Linked DNA regions of Homo sapiens: regions 2 and 3 are each linked to region 1. The links are contacts of gene promoters, found by promoter capture Hi-C in blood cells and fetal thymus (Javierre and others, 2016). All regions are on one chromosome and are shown on one strand. The core of a region is centred on a gene start or on the middle of the fragment in contact, and the rest is flanking DNA. Distances in the headings are between cores, read along the strand shown. Region 1 holds the start of TRIB1 (tribbles pseudokinase 1). Region 2 overlaps NSMCE2 (NSE2 SUMO ligase component of SMC5/6 complex). Region 3 has its middle 180 kb from the start of LINC02964.

Region 1 (5,143 bases), core at 1,804-4,303:
CAAGGATCACTTCCACAATGCCAGTAATGTTGCTGTGCGATGGCAGCTGGATGTAAGGCCTGATTTTGTCCTGGTAGTGTTTAATGGGAAACACCTGTAGAGAGAAGGGGGGCCCGTTTAGGGGGCTAGAAAAGCAAAGGCAGCCTCCCAAACCCCTGAGGGAGCTGAACAGAAGTTCTCAACCTGTGGGCTTAGGATGTGAGTAAGTTCCATTCACCTACTCCTTTCCTCTGCCACCTTACCTTACGCAGCCCCAGCTGCCCCTGACACCTTTAAAACCAGTAACACCTAAAGCTCTAGACTTGCAAATACCCAAAGGGTTACCCGCTTTCACACAGATGATTTGAAAGAACTGTCTCCTGTACATGTTCCCATCTTCTGTCAGCTCCTGAGAGCTAAGCAAACCCCCCACCCTCTGTGGCCCTTTCCTGTTTGCAGGCCACACTAGTTGAGTGGCTGATAGAAGGAAGCCCCTGGCCTGTCCAGGAGCTGAAAAGCAGTCCCTGGACGTGCATGTGCCTCCTGCAGACCCAAAGTGCTCAACACAGAAAGGGCACAGAATGTGGTGACTCTGCAGCCTCCAAGGGGAAGCAGGGGCCAGAGAACATGCAGAGCTGTCATTAATCAGAAGGAACAGATGACTTGGAGGGGGAGGCTGGGACAATGCAGCCTTAAGCAACCTGCCTACAGTCCGACTCAAGTGTAAGCAGCCTTGAGTTACAATTCTCACAGGAAGGGTATGGAATCCTGCGAATGGGTTTTCCACTTGTTTGTTTATCCCCCCACACCCGACCCCACCCCTAGAAATGAGTAGCATCTCCTCTCTTCTAGGAAGCTGGCTGGTCTCTTTAAAGGCCTTTTGTTCAGTCCAGTTACTCATATCCTAGACTCAACTGGAAACGGTGACACACGGGCTGTCACCATCTGGATTCAGCTATTATCTGCTCAGAGGAACTGGAAGGGGTTGCACAATGGCCAGACTCACCCCACCTCTAAGAGGCCTGGCTGCTCTGGCACCAGCTAGAAAAATCCCCTGCTGCCCCCTCCTCCCACCCCATCCCATCCCATCCCACCACACACACATACATGCTTGTCCCAGAACAGCTCTTAGCCCCAGTCATGGAGAAGAAAAGGTTTTTTTTTCCTCCCTATTAAACTGGGCTTGATCATGCGTCTGAAATTTCATTCGGGTTGGGCAGTAGGTGGCAGCAGCGAGCCCCGGGACGGGGTCGGGGTGTTGGGAGTGTCAGGTGAGTTGCGGAAAACCCAGAAGCGACTTAACTGGGGGGTGATCCTATCTTTCGGGTGAAAAGGAGCGGCCCGAGGGTGCTCTGGGGTGCCTCAAGCAGGGGTGCCACGCTCGCATAAAGTAGACTGTGGGAACGTTCTGCGTCTACCCGCGCAGGAGGAGGACCCGGCGGATCCTGTTTCTAGGAGCTGTGTCTCCTCCTCCTGGATGGGATCCCTATGTTCAAAGGAAAATCGCTGGCTGGAAAATAAAGTGAATCGAAGCGAGGGTTCCTGGCCGGTGTGGGCTTTTCAACATTTCTACTCCGAGCAGATTCCTCCGCCTCGGGTGGATGACTCTGGGACTGCTCCCTTGGGAGGGCGTGTTCTAGTCTCAGCGCGGATTCAATTCGGAATCCCCAAGGCAGGAGCCGGACACAGTCTTCCAGCCCCCTTACCACCTACAACTGAGCCCGGGTGCCGTGCAAGCCCGGCAAGAGAGCTGCCAGCTGCTCCAAGCTCCTAGGAGGCACCCACTAAAGGGCGTCCTTCCAGGACATTGGCGGGGGAGGGGGGGTGGAGAGCGAGGAGAATGAGAGAAGGGGAATGGCATGGCCCTGGAATCCATTTCAATTCCACAACTTATATGGAACGCCACGCGCTACACTGGGCGCTGAGGAAAGGAACAGATAGAGAAAGCCACTGAACACTGCACTTCCTCTAGGCGCCCCCATTATATCACTCCATGGGAAACCCCTCGATCCACAAAAACGTGAACCTGGTCAAATGGCGTCTTATCTGACCCAATCTACTGATCCGCCCTGTGCCCAGCCCAAGCGTTGGCCGGACCCCAAGCACCTTTGCCTACCACCCCGTCCCGCGCCCCCGACCCCAGCCGGGTCCTGGCCCGGGAGCGCCTACCTTGCAGCGCAGCTCGCGTCCAGTGTGGATGCACAGCGCCCGGGACACATGCTCGCGCTCGGCTAGGGGCAGCAGCAGGTAGTCGGCGATGCGGCTGGGCCCCGGCGCGCTCCCGGAGCCTCCGCCGGCCCCCGGAGCGGCAGGCGGGGGCTGCGGGCTGCAGGGCGAGCCGGGGGGGCTGAGGTAGTCCGGGGGGCTGGAGCACTCGGAGAGGCGCGGGCACTTGGCCGCCACAGCCGCCGCGTCGTCGGCGTCCAGCAGGCGTTTGGCCGGGACGCCTCGGGTGGCTGGGAAGAGCAGGGCCGGGCCGCGGGGCTGCGAGGCGCCGCTCATGGCAGAGCGCACCGGACCGACCCGCATCCCGTCCTGGGCCGGGGTGGCCCCGGCTTTTTAAGTCCCGGGATCCGCGCGGGAAGACGCTGCGGGTTTGGTGCCGGCTCCGCGACTTCTTCCAGCCGGCGGGATGGAGTTTGCAGACTGGTCTTGGCTCGGCCCCCACGAGGGGCAAAGCAGGAGCCACTCCCCGGCGCTCGCGTTGCACGCGGGGACCACGCTGGCTGTGCGTCCGGGAGGCGGAGGCCGGCTCGAGTCCCCGGACCCCCGCAGGCAAGGGCTCCCGGAGCCTCGCTGGGGGCGGCCGCCACTATTGTTGCCGAGGCTGCCGATAGTCCGGGAGGCAGAGGCGGCGGCGGCAGCGGTCAGCGATCCCGGGGTCCCGAGCCGCGAGGACAGGATTCAGCAGGCTCGGCGGAGCCACGAAGCAAATGCACTTCCCAAAGCGATGAGTCTCCAGCAAAAGCCGGGGGAACTTTTTCGCGGCGCTCGGGATCCTGAGCGCTCCTGGGCTCCGGGCGTGTATGAGAGCGAGCGAGACGCGCTCAGAGAGAGTGACTGTGAGTGAGTGTGAGCGCTGCACCGATCCCGGCCAGTGCACTCCTCCTTCTCCTTTTCCTCCACCTCCTCCGCCTCCTGGTGACTCACGCTGTATACACACACACTCACAGGCCGGGCTGTGTAAACAGTTGGGAAGCCGGGTTGTGCAATGAGGTGGCTGCGACGACTCCGGCCCCGCCGCCCAGCGAGCAGTCTCCGGAGCGGAGGGAGGAGACTGGGGGAAGGGGAGAGGGAGTAGGAGGTGGGGGGAATGGGGGTGGACTTAGGGCTGGGGATGCTCCGGGCAGCGCGCGCTCGGGCGCAGGTGGTGCGTCCCGGGCCGGCCTGGACGCGCGCACACGCCCCCAGGGCTGGGAGGGGCTGGGCAGGAGGCGGCGCGCGCGCCCTCCCGCAGGCCCCCAGCTCAGCGGAGAAGCCGAAGGAGGGGGCGGAGGAAAAGTTCCCGTGACGTAAGGGCCCGGGGAAGTGGGCGGGAGGGACGGGGCTGCGGGGAGCGAAGCGACCGCTGATTGGTGCGCGCGCCTCATTCACAGTAAGCACAATGGGCTGCGGGCGCGAGGCGGGAGCGCGCACCACGGTTCTCTGCACCCGCCGCTCGCTGCAGCCCCGCGGCGACGCCTTTCGCCCCGGGGATCCCCCCACCGCCCAGCGCCTGGGGAGCTCCGGTTGGAGCCGTGGGCGCCGCCGAGGCCCGGCTGCAGCCGGAGGAAGGAGGGGGATAGGGAGGTGATGAATTCCAGAATCAGTCATTCACCCCCACGCGGTAGTTCCGGGGAAGACCTGTGCGTGGTAGTGGATGTGGCTTTTTTTTTTCCCTTTTCCTGCCCCCTCCCAGCTCTAATCCCCAGCGTCTGTTCGCTTCCACAAATAGAACCTTCTGTTGGAGGAAATAAAAGCAAACACTGGGCCTTCTGCGCTGCCTCCACCTCCACGCCCCCCCAACCCCCCCGCGCCTGCCGCCCGCCCGGATTGCACGGAAATAGCTTCTCCAGGCTCCCGGGCCGCCCCTTCGCGGTGACTCGCAGAAAGAGCTTCCTGAGCCAGGGCCGGTGGGAAACAAAGGATGTGGGGAGCGGGCGGAAGGGGCCCACGTGGCTGCCGCCGGATTCCTACTCCCTCCCCAGCCTCCACACGCGCCGCAGGGTCTAGGGCCTGAGTGCCAACCTGGGTAGGTGGGTAGGCTGGTGGAAGTCATTCTGGCCACTGCCAGAGATACCGCCTGCACCCGGGCAGCCCTGCCTGGTGGTGCGCATGCATTCATTCCGTGTGATTTGGAAGAGCATCAAAGTTGCGCGTGAAACAACTTGGAATCTGTCATTTTTCTTTCTTGAGTGAACCAGGTCAGTTTGGAGTCCCTGGGCACCCAACAATATAACTATTATTAGAGAGCCCTTACTTGTCCTTCTGCTAAATACTTAATTTTCTAAAACCAGGTCGAGCCCCAGGAATAAATCATTTTCCTTATTAATTCTCCATTCATTCAACAAATACTAATTAAGCATCTACCAAGAGCTAAACGCTGGGAATTAGAAGGTGAAAATTAAAATAATAATAATAGCTAACATGAATCGAGGCCTACAATGTGTCGGACACTGTTCTTAGCACTTTATATGTATTACTTCAGTTTTCCAACCACACTATGGGGTTATTTTTTGCCCCATTTCACAGGGAAGAAACTGAAGCCTTAGAAGGATGAAGTTAGGCCAAGCGTGGTGGCTCACGCCTGTAATCCCAGCACTTTGGGAGGCTGAGGTGGGCAGATCACCTGAGGTCAGGAGTTCAAGACCAATCTGGCCAACATGGTGAAACCCCGTCTCTACTACAAGTACAAAAATTAGCTGGGTGTGGTGGCGCGCGCCTGTAATCCCAGCTGCTGGGGAGGCTGAGGTGGGAGAATCACTTGAACCTGGGAGACAGAGGTTGCAGTGAGCCGAGATCGTGCCACTGCACTCCAGCCTTGGGGAGAAAGCAAGACTTAGTCTCAAAAAATAAAAAATAATAATAATAATAATTTAAAAAAAGAACGAAAGATGAAGTTACTTGCTGCGGTTAAGTAGCTCATAAGGGGTGGTGCGGTCAAGCTCCTAAGCATTTATGGCGA
Region 2 (5,143 bases), core at 1,591-4,090, 330 kb after region 1:
TCCACTCCAATTATCCACTAGATCCTATCCCTCCCTCCCTACTCTAAGACATTCTCCCAGCAATTCTCCCTGCTTTCCTGCATCATTAAATTTTCCCTCTCTACTGAATCATTCCCTTCAGCAAACAAATACACCATTACTTCTCCCATCTCAAAAACATCCTCCGACTTTCCTCCCACTTACCCCTCTGGTTACCAGCCCCATTTCTCTACTCAGCCTTAGAGCAAAACTCGTCTGTAGATTTGTATACATTTGTCTCCAAATCCTCTCCTTCCATTCCCTTTGGAACCCACCCCCACTAGGGTTCCATCTCTATCACTCCACTGCAACTGCTCTTGTCAAGGTCACCTGAAAAGACTTAATGTTAAATTTGTTATCAATGCTCAGCCCTATCTCCTTTGACCTATCAGCCAGCAGTATGCAACACAGTTAATCACTCCCTTCCTGATGCACTTTCTGCACCTGCCTACCTTGTTCTTGTTCTCATTCTCCTTTCTGTTTCCTCTCCATCTCCTTGAGCTCCATATGTTGTAGGGTCCCAGGTTCAGAATCCAAGCTTCTTTTTCTTCTCCTTCTATACCCAAATCAAATACAGCCCTGCCTCAGGGCTATGCCTTCTTGGTTCCCTCTGCCATGATACTGGTCCCCTAGATATCTACTAGGTCAATTCCCTTACTTCTCTAAGGTCTCCCTTTGAGTATCACCTCATCAGTAAGGCCTTCCCTGGCCATCTGATATACAACGGCAAGCCCTCCCAATCTCCACCCCCAGGCATTCCCACCCTTCTGCTTCTGCTTTATCTTTCCTCAAGGCAGGTATTGCCAAACGACATTCTTGTATTTATTAGGTTTATAGTGTCTAGTCCCCAATTACACTGTAAGTTCCTTAAACTTACAGACTTTTTGACTTTTTCTGTTTTGTTCACTGCTGTATTCCAAGCACCTAAAACAACGCATGGCACATTAGTGGCCATTCAACAAAGGCTTGCTGAAAGAAGGAATGAATGTAATACTATGTATCTCCAGCACCTAAAACAGCACATGTCTCCAAAACTGTAGTATAGGTGGTATGCCCAGGGCTCAGTGCTCTGATCTCTCTTTTCCATCCTCTCCCATCCACCTAGTGTTCCCAACTAGACCCATTCCATCTAAATACCATTGGCAAGATCACTCCAGAACTTAAAACGTCCAACATGGAAGGCCCACATTCCTTCTCTCCCACCCTACCCCTCCCCCAAACCTACTCCTTTTACAACCTGCCCCATCTTACTAAATAGCAACTCCATCCTTCCATTTGTTGAACCAAAACTCTTGGTTCATACTTGATCCTTCTCCTCCTCCCCTCATATCCTATACCAAACTCAACATCAATTTTGCCAGCTCTGTAGTCAAACTATCTCCAGAATCCAACCACTCTCACCAATTCTGCTGATAACACCGTGATTCAAACCATCATCTCTTGCCTGAATTACTCCAACAGTCTCCTACCTGGTCTCCCTGCTCTCAGTCTTGCCTCTTCCACCCTATTCTCAACACAGCAGCCAGAGTAAACCTTTGAAAATGTACGTAAGATCATGTGACTCCTCTGCTCAAAAACTCCTAAGGACTTCCTGACTCACCGGGAGTAATGGCCAAAGAGCTTCGTAATAACTGACAATAGTGGTTCTCCAAATGGTTCCTGACCAAGTGTCACCAGCATCACCTATGAACTTGTTAGAAATGCAAATTCTCAGGCCCCAACAATCTACGTTTTAACAAGTCCTCTATGTAATTCTAACTCTGATATATCTAGGAGACATGTAGTGTCAGTGTATTGAATCATCTGATGGGCCCATTAAAACACTGATTGCTGGACCTCACCCTCAGAATTTCTAATTCAGTATGTCTGGGAAGGGACCTAAGAATCTGCATTTCTAACAAATTTCCAGGTAATGTAGATTTTGCTGATCCAAGAATTACACTTTGAAGACCACTGTTCTACATTATCTGGCCATTGCTAGTCCTTTAATAACCCAGGCATGCTTCACCTTAAGGTCTTTGAGCTTGCTAATAAGACAGAGATGCCAGTAATAAAGACAGAAAAAAGCAGGAAGGGTTGGTCCTAACTCCCTCCTGCCTATATAATAAAATTCAACATAATTAGCACAGTATCCAAAGCTTTCTACAATATAATGCAAACACGCTTTTCAAATCAGAGATTCTACTTTTCACCAAGACTTAAATCATACATTTCATATAACCTTAACTATTTGATATTCCAGAATAAACATAACTCCTTTCTGCCACAACCCCTCAAAACAGGCTTGGCAGAGAACAAGTTCCATATTAAAAGAATGAACCAAGTACTATGAAGTTGAAAAAAGAAACCGATTACACAAACCCACTATGCTACAATGTTCAAGAAAGGAAAGGATTATAGGCACAACAGGGGAGACATAGGCTTCACGGAAATGAAGGCACTTAAGCTGGACCATAAAAGGTACTCAGGATTTGGAAAGGTCTAAATTATCAGGGAGAGCTGTTCAGATGAAGGAAGCAGTGAGATGAAAAAAGATCATAAGGTAGTAAACGATGAGATGAGTTCCCTTTGCCTGGCATACAGGTACAAAGGAATGGGAAGATAACTGGATTTCATTCTTTGGGAATATAGTGTAGACAGCCTTAAGTACAGGATAAAGATTCACTCCAGTTGGGTCTAGTGGTCATCATGGAAATTTGAGCTCTATGTATTTTCAAAACTTTACCTTAAAAATCAAGACCTGAAACAAATATGGCAAAATGTTAAAGATGTTAAAATCTGGGTGATGAAACAAGGGTTCTTGTTGTGTTCTTTTCTGGGACTTTACAGTTCCACATCAAAAAAGAAAAAATACAAACAGGAATAAAAGCCAATGATGATCTTCAAACATTTGCATTGAAAGAGACTGCTTGTTTACAATCTCACTGTATTATACCAAACAAGTTGAGACATTTTACACAATATAAATACAAACATACACAAAAAGATGGAAAAACATAAATTCAGAAAAACCAGGATCAAAAAACAGAAATTTACGGGCAAACCAAGCATATGAGAAAGTTATAATGGAGTCACGCACACTTTAGGATTCTACACAGAGGGCCAGGTGTGGTGGCTCCCGCCTGTAATCCCAGCACTTTGGGAGGCCGAGGCAGTTGATCACTCGAGGTCAGGAGTTCAAGACCAGCCCAGCCAACATGGTGAAGCCCCATCCCTACTGAAAATACAAAAATTAGCTGGGCATGGTGGTACACACCTGCAGTCCCAGCTACTCGGGAGGCTGAGGCAGAAGAATCGCTTGAATCCTGGAGGCAGCAGTTGCAGTGAGCTGAGATCACAAAAAGACTCCGTATGAAAAAAAAAAAAAAAAAAAAAGGATTCCACACAGTACTAGTAATACACATTTGGTAGTGAGCTTCCTCACAATCAAAACAAAAAGTGACAGTTATTTTCTCCAAAAAAAAAAAACAAATAACACTAGAAACTCAAGAAAAAAATAAAGCTTTCCATGGCAATCAAGGCAAGTATGGATCATCATATATGAGATAATGGGTTACACTGAAAAAAATAATCCTCAAAAATATCCTTATAGTAAATGCAATAGCAAACTTCTAGGACTGTTTCTTGAGACTATTTCTCAGGGCAGGTAAGGACAAAACACTTGTGACAGATACTGGACAGGTGCCCACCAAAACCATTTCCTCTTCAACCCGGTTACATGCCTATATATGCTCCACATTTTCCAGCCTTCCTTGAAGTTAGCTGTGGCCTATGACTGTACCCAAGGCAATGAAATGTGAGCCATTTCCAGGCCTAATCTGCAAAAAGCCACATTTTCCCATTTGATAGCTTGATGCAGGCAAGCATAGGGACCTTAGTAAAGCTATATGCTGATGATAGAGAATTACTGCATGGAAGGAGCTCAAGGCCCTACATCACTGCTTGGAGGAAAACTACTCACCTATCAGGCTCCATGCATGAAAGAAACTTCAACTGGGCAAAGCCATTTAGACTTGTGGGGTTTACCTGTTACAGTACTAAGTATTAATCAAAAAACACAAACCTGCAAGGACCAAATGATATAATTCCAGTATTCAATTTTCTTTTCTTTTTTTTTTTTTTTTTTTGAGATGGAGTTTTGCTCTTGTCCCTCAGGCTGGAGTGCAGTGGCACTACCTTGGCTCACTGCAACCTACGCCTCCCAGGTTCATGCAATTCTCTTGCCTCAGCCTCCCCAGTAGCTGGGAGCTACATGCCAGGCTAATTTTTGTATTTTTAGTAGAGACGGGGTTTCACTATGTTTGCCAGGCTGGTCTCAAACTCCTGACCTCAAGTGATCCACCGGCCTCGGCCTCCCAAAGTGCTAGGATTACAGGCGTGAGCCACTGCCCCTGGCCTCGGTTTTCTTTTTGTTTTTGAGACAGGGTCTTGTTCTGTCACCCAGGCTGGAGTGCAGTGACATGATCATGCTCGCTACAGCCTCAACCTCCCAGGCTCATGTGATTCTCCCACATTAGCCTCTCAAGTAGCTGGGACCACAGGCGCGCGCCACCACTTGGCCAATTTTTCTTTTTTAATTTTTAGTAGAGACGACCATCTCCCTGTGTTGCCCAAGCTGGTCTCAAACTCCTGAGCTCAAGTGATCCTCCCAACTCGGCCTCTCAAGTGCTGGGATTATAGGCATGAGACACCATGATCAGCAGAAGTATTCTGTTTTCTACTCAGTCTTGATTCTAGTGTAAGTCTAAATTGTCCAGAGCAGCATTGTCCAATAGAACTTTCTGTGATGAAAACGTTCTATAATCTGCACTGTCCAATATGATAGGCACTAGGCACATGTGTACTGATTATCTAAAACCTGGCTGGAAAGGTGGCTCATGCCTATAATCCCAGCACTTTGGGAGGCCAATGTGGGAGGTTGGCTTGAGCCCAGGAGTTCGAGACCAGCCCAGGCAATAAAGTGAGACTCTGTCTTTACAGAAAATAAAAAATTAGCTGGATGTGGTGGTGCGGGCCTGCAGCCCCAGCTCCTCAGGAGGAGATGTGGTAGGATCGCTTGAGCCGGGAGGTTGAGGTTGCAGTAAGCCATGATCACGCCACTGCACTCCAGCCTGGGCAACAGAGC
Region 3 (5,143 bases), core at 1,703-4,202, 270 kb before region 1:
TCTGAGCAGTGCATCTCAATGGGCCTCACACCTGGGAAGAGTTAGAAGAGGAGGCTTGTGCTTTAAAATAAAGACTTGTCGGTGGGGCCCAAATTGATATGAAAAATGGGTCAGATAGAGGTAGAAGGTGGGATGCAACTCTGGAGGGGGGTACTCAAACTTCGGACCAGACTGAAGACTAGCTGAAACGGGGAAAATGTGAAAGCCCCTCTCCATAAGACACGCCCATCAGTGCCATGTCAGTTTACCAATGCCATGGCAACACCCAGAAGTTATCACCCTTTTTCTAGAAATTTCTGCATAATCTGCCCCTTAATTTGCTTGTTACTAAAAGTGGTTATGACTACAGAAATGCCCCTGAGCTGCTCCTCTTGACACACTGCCTGTGGGGTAGCCCTGCCCATGGGGTAGCCCTGCTTGCAGGAGCAGGCACAGAGCTATAATTCCATTGCCTCGACAAAACTGTTTTCTTCTACCACTGACTCACTCTTGAATTCTTTCCCGAGTGAAGCCAAGAGCCTTCCTGGGCTAAGCCCCAGTTTTGGGGCTTGCCTGCCCTGCAACAAGATAAGGAATATATTAGAGATAAAATCCAAATGACATGTCTCCCACGGCCCTTTACTTGCTATCTCTAACACATGAAATAGACTCAACACCTAGAATACATTTCTATGTCTACAAAGCACTTGAGAATCATGTCATCCTATTACCCATACTAGCAAAAATGAAGAGGCAGTTGCTCCTTCCAAGAGGAGAAAGAGTCAGGTTTAGCCACTCATTCAAATTACGCAGCAAGTCCAGGCAGAAGCAGAACTTAGATGATGATCCTGTAACCCCTAGACAGCCTCTACTTTCTTCCCAGAAGACTTGTGCAGATTCTCCAACCAAAGAAGCATGAACTTGACCGTTCCTGCCGACGCTCATGCTTCTCCTCCTGACTTGGAGGATGTATCCATATAGAATCCATACAGGGTCACAGTAGCTACTCCCAGCTTCTCATTTCACATAGAAAACAAATGCCACCCAGACTCAGAGAAGATGATGCCCAGGACCACACCATCAAACGGAGACAAGACCCCAGAAACTCCAAGTCTATCCAGGATTACAGAGAGGAAGCTGAGGCCTGGATTACAAAACTCTGCATGTGCTATGGTGTTCATTCATTCACCTGACACATGCTTATTGAGCATCTACTACGATTAATGCCTTAGGCCCTGGGAATATGGGTAAAGACAGTCACTGGAGACCCTGCCTTCCTAGAACTTACCTTTTCAAAGTCTTCCCAGGTGTGGCTCAGAAGCGCAGCTCCAGGATCCCCTGGTTTGGTTCTAAATCTACTGATGTGAAAGCACAGTCTTTCCCTGCTGTGTGTGAGCTTGTGATTTTTTTCCTACGTCAGTGAGGTCAATTACACTCCCGCAGTTTTGCAGCAAAGCTTTTTGAGACTCTCCAGTCACTGCTCTTATTAATTACTGTATCAGCTGTTTTACATACCTTAATTATTTCCCCATGGCACAGACAATGGCCTTTTTTGAGATTTTTTTCCTTGCTTTTTCTGGTAAAAATAGAAAATATGAATATGTATGTACTTTTTAAGGTTTTTCAGAATTTAAACACGACATGAGCGCCACCTGCTGGTTAAAATGAGACATATCTGCACTGATTCCTGTGATCTCAACTTTAAATATCCTACTATTATTACGTTGGTGCAAAAGTAATTGCGGTATTCCCATTACTGTCATTTATTTTTAAATAATATTTTAGGATACCATTTAAGCACCTACTGTATTCCTCTGCCAAGTTCCTTAATCCTCACAGTATAATTAATAACTCTAAAATATCATAAATATCATAGCTGATACTTGGTAAGAACTTATTTTATACATTATCTCATAAAATCTTCACAACAACCCTGTTTTTAAAGTGATGTTTCTAACTGAATTTCAAAGATTTGGAAATGGACACAGAGAGAGGAAGTGACTTGCCCAGGAAGTGGGTGGCACAGCCAAGATTTGAATTCCCGTGGGTCTACCTTCTATTCTGCTCTGGTATTATATAATAAGCTCAGCAAAATAAGGTACAGGGGTATTGAAAGTTCACAGGGCCCTTCCTCTATTCTTCCTGTATTAACTTTTGCACCTTCCACACCTCCCCCTTCTTCACTGGGGAGAGGAACTACTCGACTCCTGGCTACAGGCAGCCACCCTCTTCTGACTCCCTAGTACTGGCTGGTCCTGCCATTAGCTTTTCCTGCAACTCCAAAAATAGTAGGCATCACATTGCTAATCCTTCTTGGTGTCTCCCAAACAGCGTTTTGTACGCATCATTGATAATTCATTGATGTCGAAGGAGTGATTAAGAACAGAGGAATCCCAAGACCAGAGCCATTCAGAGTCAGGCAGGTAGGGTTGGGCACTCCACCCTTTAGAGAAAGTTATTAAGCCTCTTTAAACTTCAGTTTTTGACTGGGCACGGTGACTCACACTTCTAATCCTAGCACTTTGGGAGGCCAAGGCAGGTGGATTATCTAAGGTCAGGAGTTCAAGACCAGCCTGGCCAACATGACGAAACTCTGTCTCTACTAAAAATACAAAAATTAACTGGGTGTGGTGGCATGTGCCTGTAATCCCAGCTACTCGGGAGGCTGAGGCAGGAGAATCACTTGAACCCAGGAGGTGGACGCTGCAGTGAGCTAAGATCATGCCACTGCACTCCAGCCTGGGTGACAGAGTGAGACTCTGTCTTAAAAAATAACAATAATAATAAATAAATAATAAATTTCAGATGTCTCATCTCTAAAATGAGGATAATAATCCCAAGCTCTATACTATAGTTTGGATGTCTGTCCCACCAAACCTCATGCTAAAATTTGATCCCCAATGTTGAAGATGTGGCCTAAGGAGAGGTGTTTGGGTCATGAGAGCAGATGCCTCATGAATAGATTAATGCCCTCCCTCGAGGATGAGTGAGTTCTCATTCCTGCAGTGGCTAGTTGTTAAAAAGAGCCGGGCACCTCCCTTCCCCCCATCACTTCCTCTGTCACCATGTGATCTCTGCATACACAGACTCCTATTCACCTCCCACCATAAGGGGAAGCAGCCTGAGGCCCTCACAAGATGCCCAATCTTGAACCTTCCAGCCAGCAGAATCATGAGCTACATAAACCTCTTTTCTTTATATGTTACCCAGCCTCAGGTATGTCTTGGTAGTAACACTAAATGCACTGAGACACTCTGAAATGTTCAGTGATGATTAAAGGGGAATCACACGGGAAAGTGCTGCATTCAGTATTCCCTTTGCGTTTGCCAAGGAAAGACCTTCAACAGTATGGCTTTATGAACCATAAGTTTCTCCATAAACCCTGAAGCTAATGGAAACCAGAGATGTAAACACTTACTGTAACATGCTATAGGAATATACACTGCTATCATTATTAGACAAAAAGAATTGAGATTCCACAATGATTTTTCAATTTCACTATTTATTGAGTAGTCTTGCGATCCAGGCAACCTGCTGGGGGCAGTGGAGGGCAGGATATTCAGCATGCACCACGGCCTTGTGTCTGAGTCACTTACTACCCAGCAGAAAGACTGTACTCCTTTCATTTCTCTCAAGCTGACACAACTGGGACCGATGGGTAGTTGGAAAGAAACCAATTTCAGCTCAGTGTGAGAAGTAGCACAGTATAGCAGTGAGGGTGCAGCATCAAAACACCTCTCTGTTCTTCTGACTCTGCTTTTACCCTGTGTGTCCTTAAACAAGCTACTAACCCTGTCTTCCATATGAGTATCAGCCCAGATAACGAATATAAAAAAGGACTTGTAAAGTGCTAAGCAAATATTGTAGCAAAGACTGCTATTATTCTTCAATTTCATATTCCCCTTCCTCCACAGCTAGAAACATGGCTGTTCAGAATAAAGACTACATTTCCCAGACTTTCTTGCAGATCAGGAGTGGTCATATGACTTAAGTTCTGCCAATGGGATGTAAACAGAGTATCATGTGGAAGATTCCCTTTGCTTCTGGGAAACTTTTTGACAGACAGCTGGCCCACTCATTGGGCCCCCTTCTTCCCACCTTCCTCCATCTGTGTTTGGAAAGTGAATGTCACTCCTGAAGCTCTATCTTGGGTCATGAGTACAGTGGCTAAGCCCTGGGCAGAGTGGAGTAGAAGGTCTAATGGTGCAGGTCCCTGAGAACTTTGTGGAGCAGAACCTTCATGGCAGGATTAGATTAACTGTGGATATTTACATGAGAGATAAATAAATAGCTATTTAAGCCACTGTCATTTTGAGTTTTCTATCACTCACAACTGGACCTAATTCTAACCCACATAAATATGGTTTGCTATCATTACTAATGGCATGCCAAAATGCCCTTTCTAACAAGGGATATTATTCAATAGAATGGGATGGACAACATCAACTCCCAGTGAAAACAACATTATAGGAGAGACTGTGCAAGCTTCCTTTAAGGTTATTACAGAACAGAATCTTCCCTCAGCTGGAATCCAAGGACCAGCAACCCAGTGGGCATGAAACCTATGTGCAGAGTAGGATCCATGACAGAAGTCAAGCCATATCATGAATAATTCATGGAAAATATATTCCCAAAGCACCTACTATGTGCCAGATGCTCAGGCTGCGTGAGAGCTGAGATACGGTCCTGCTCTCAAGTGGCTTACAGTCTGGTGGGAGACACATAATGGCAACACCATGGCATCCATGCACTAAAGAACACATTTCAGGTGCTATGGAAATGTGACAGTGGAAAGACACTGGCATTCTGGTAAGGAACCAAGCAGAAAATCAGGAAAGATTTCTTAGAGGAGCATTTAAGCTTGGTCTTGACCAGACACGGTGGCTAACGCCTGTAATCTCAGCATTTTGGGAGGCTAAGCAGGTGGATCACCTGAGGTCAGGAGGTCAGGAGTTCGAGACCAGCCTGACCAACATGGTGAACCATGTCTACTAAACCAACCATCTCTACTAAAAAATACAAAAATTATCCAGGTGTGGTGGCATGTGCCCATGTGCCTGTAATCCCAGCTACTCAGGAGGCTGAGGCAGGAGAATTGCTTGAACCCAGGAAGCAGAGGTTGCAGTGAGCCAAGATCATGCCATTGCACTCCAGACTGGGCAAC

What was found. The method cuts DNA at HindIII sites, captures the fragments that hold promoters and counts their contacts. A CHiCAGO score of 5 or more calls a contact.
Region 2: a contact is called between a fragment that was not itself captured here and the fragment with the promoter of TRIB1 in region 1, in 5 of 17 cell types (neutrophils, fetal thymus, monocytes and 2 more). The highest score is 10.6, in neutrophils.
Region 3: a contact is called between a fragment that was not itself captured here and the fragment with the promoter of TRIB1 in region 1, in 1 of 17 cell types (M1 macrophages). The highest score is 5.6, in M1 macrophages.

What each region holds. Positions count from the first base shown.
Region 1 is chr8:125,428,268-125,433,410 of GRCh38, reverse strand. TRIB1 (tribbles pseudokinase 1) reads right to left here and starts at 3,053. Exons shown (of 3, transcript NM_025195.4): 1 at 2,149-3,053; 2 at 1-94. The coding sequence starts at 2,508. RefSeq lists enhancers at 1,291-1,380, 2,851-2,900 and silencers at 2,191-2,530, 3,261-3,880. The HindIII fragment of the contact is 12,242 bases long and covers 1-5,143 here.
Region 2 is chr8:125,094,885-125,100,027 of GRCh38, reverse strand. The region is part of intron 1 of NSMCE2 (NSE2 SUMO ligase component of SMC5/6 complex); the gene reads right to left. Among named protein-coding and RNA genes, the nearest start is that of NSMCE2, 5.6 kb to the right of the region's middle. The HindIII fragment of the contact is 1,364 bases long and covers 2,159-3,522 here.
Region 3 is chr8:125,699,217-125,704,359 of GRCh38, reverse strand. No RefSeq gene overlaps it. Among named protein-coding and RNA genes, the nearest start is that of LINC02964, 180 kb to the right of the region's middle. RefSeq lists an enhancer at 5,104-5,143. The HindIII fragment of the contact is 3,029 bases long and covers 1,438-4,466 here.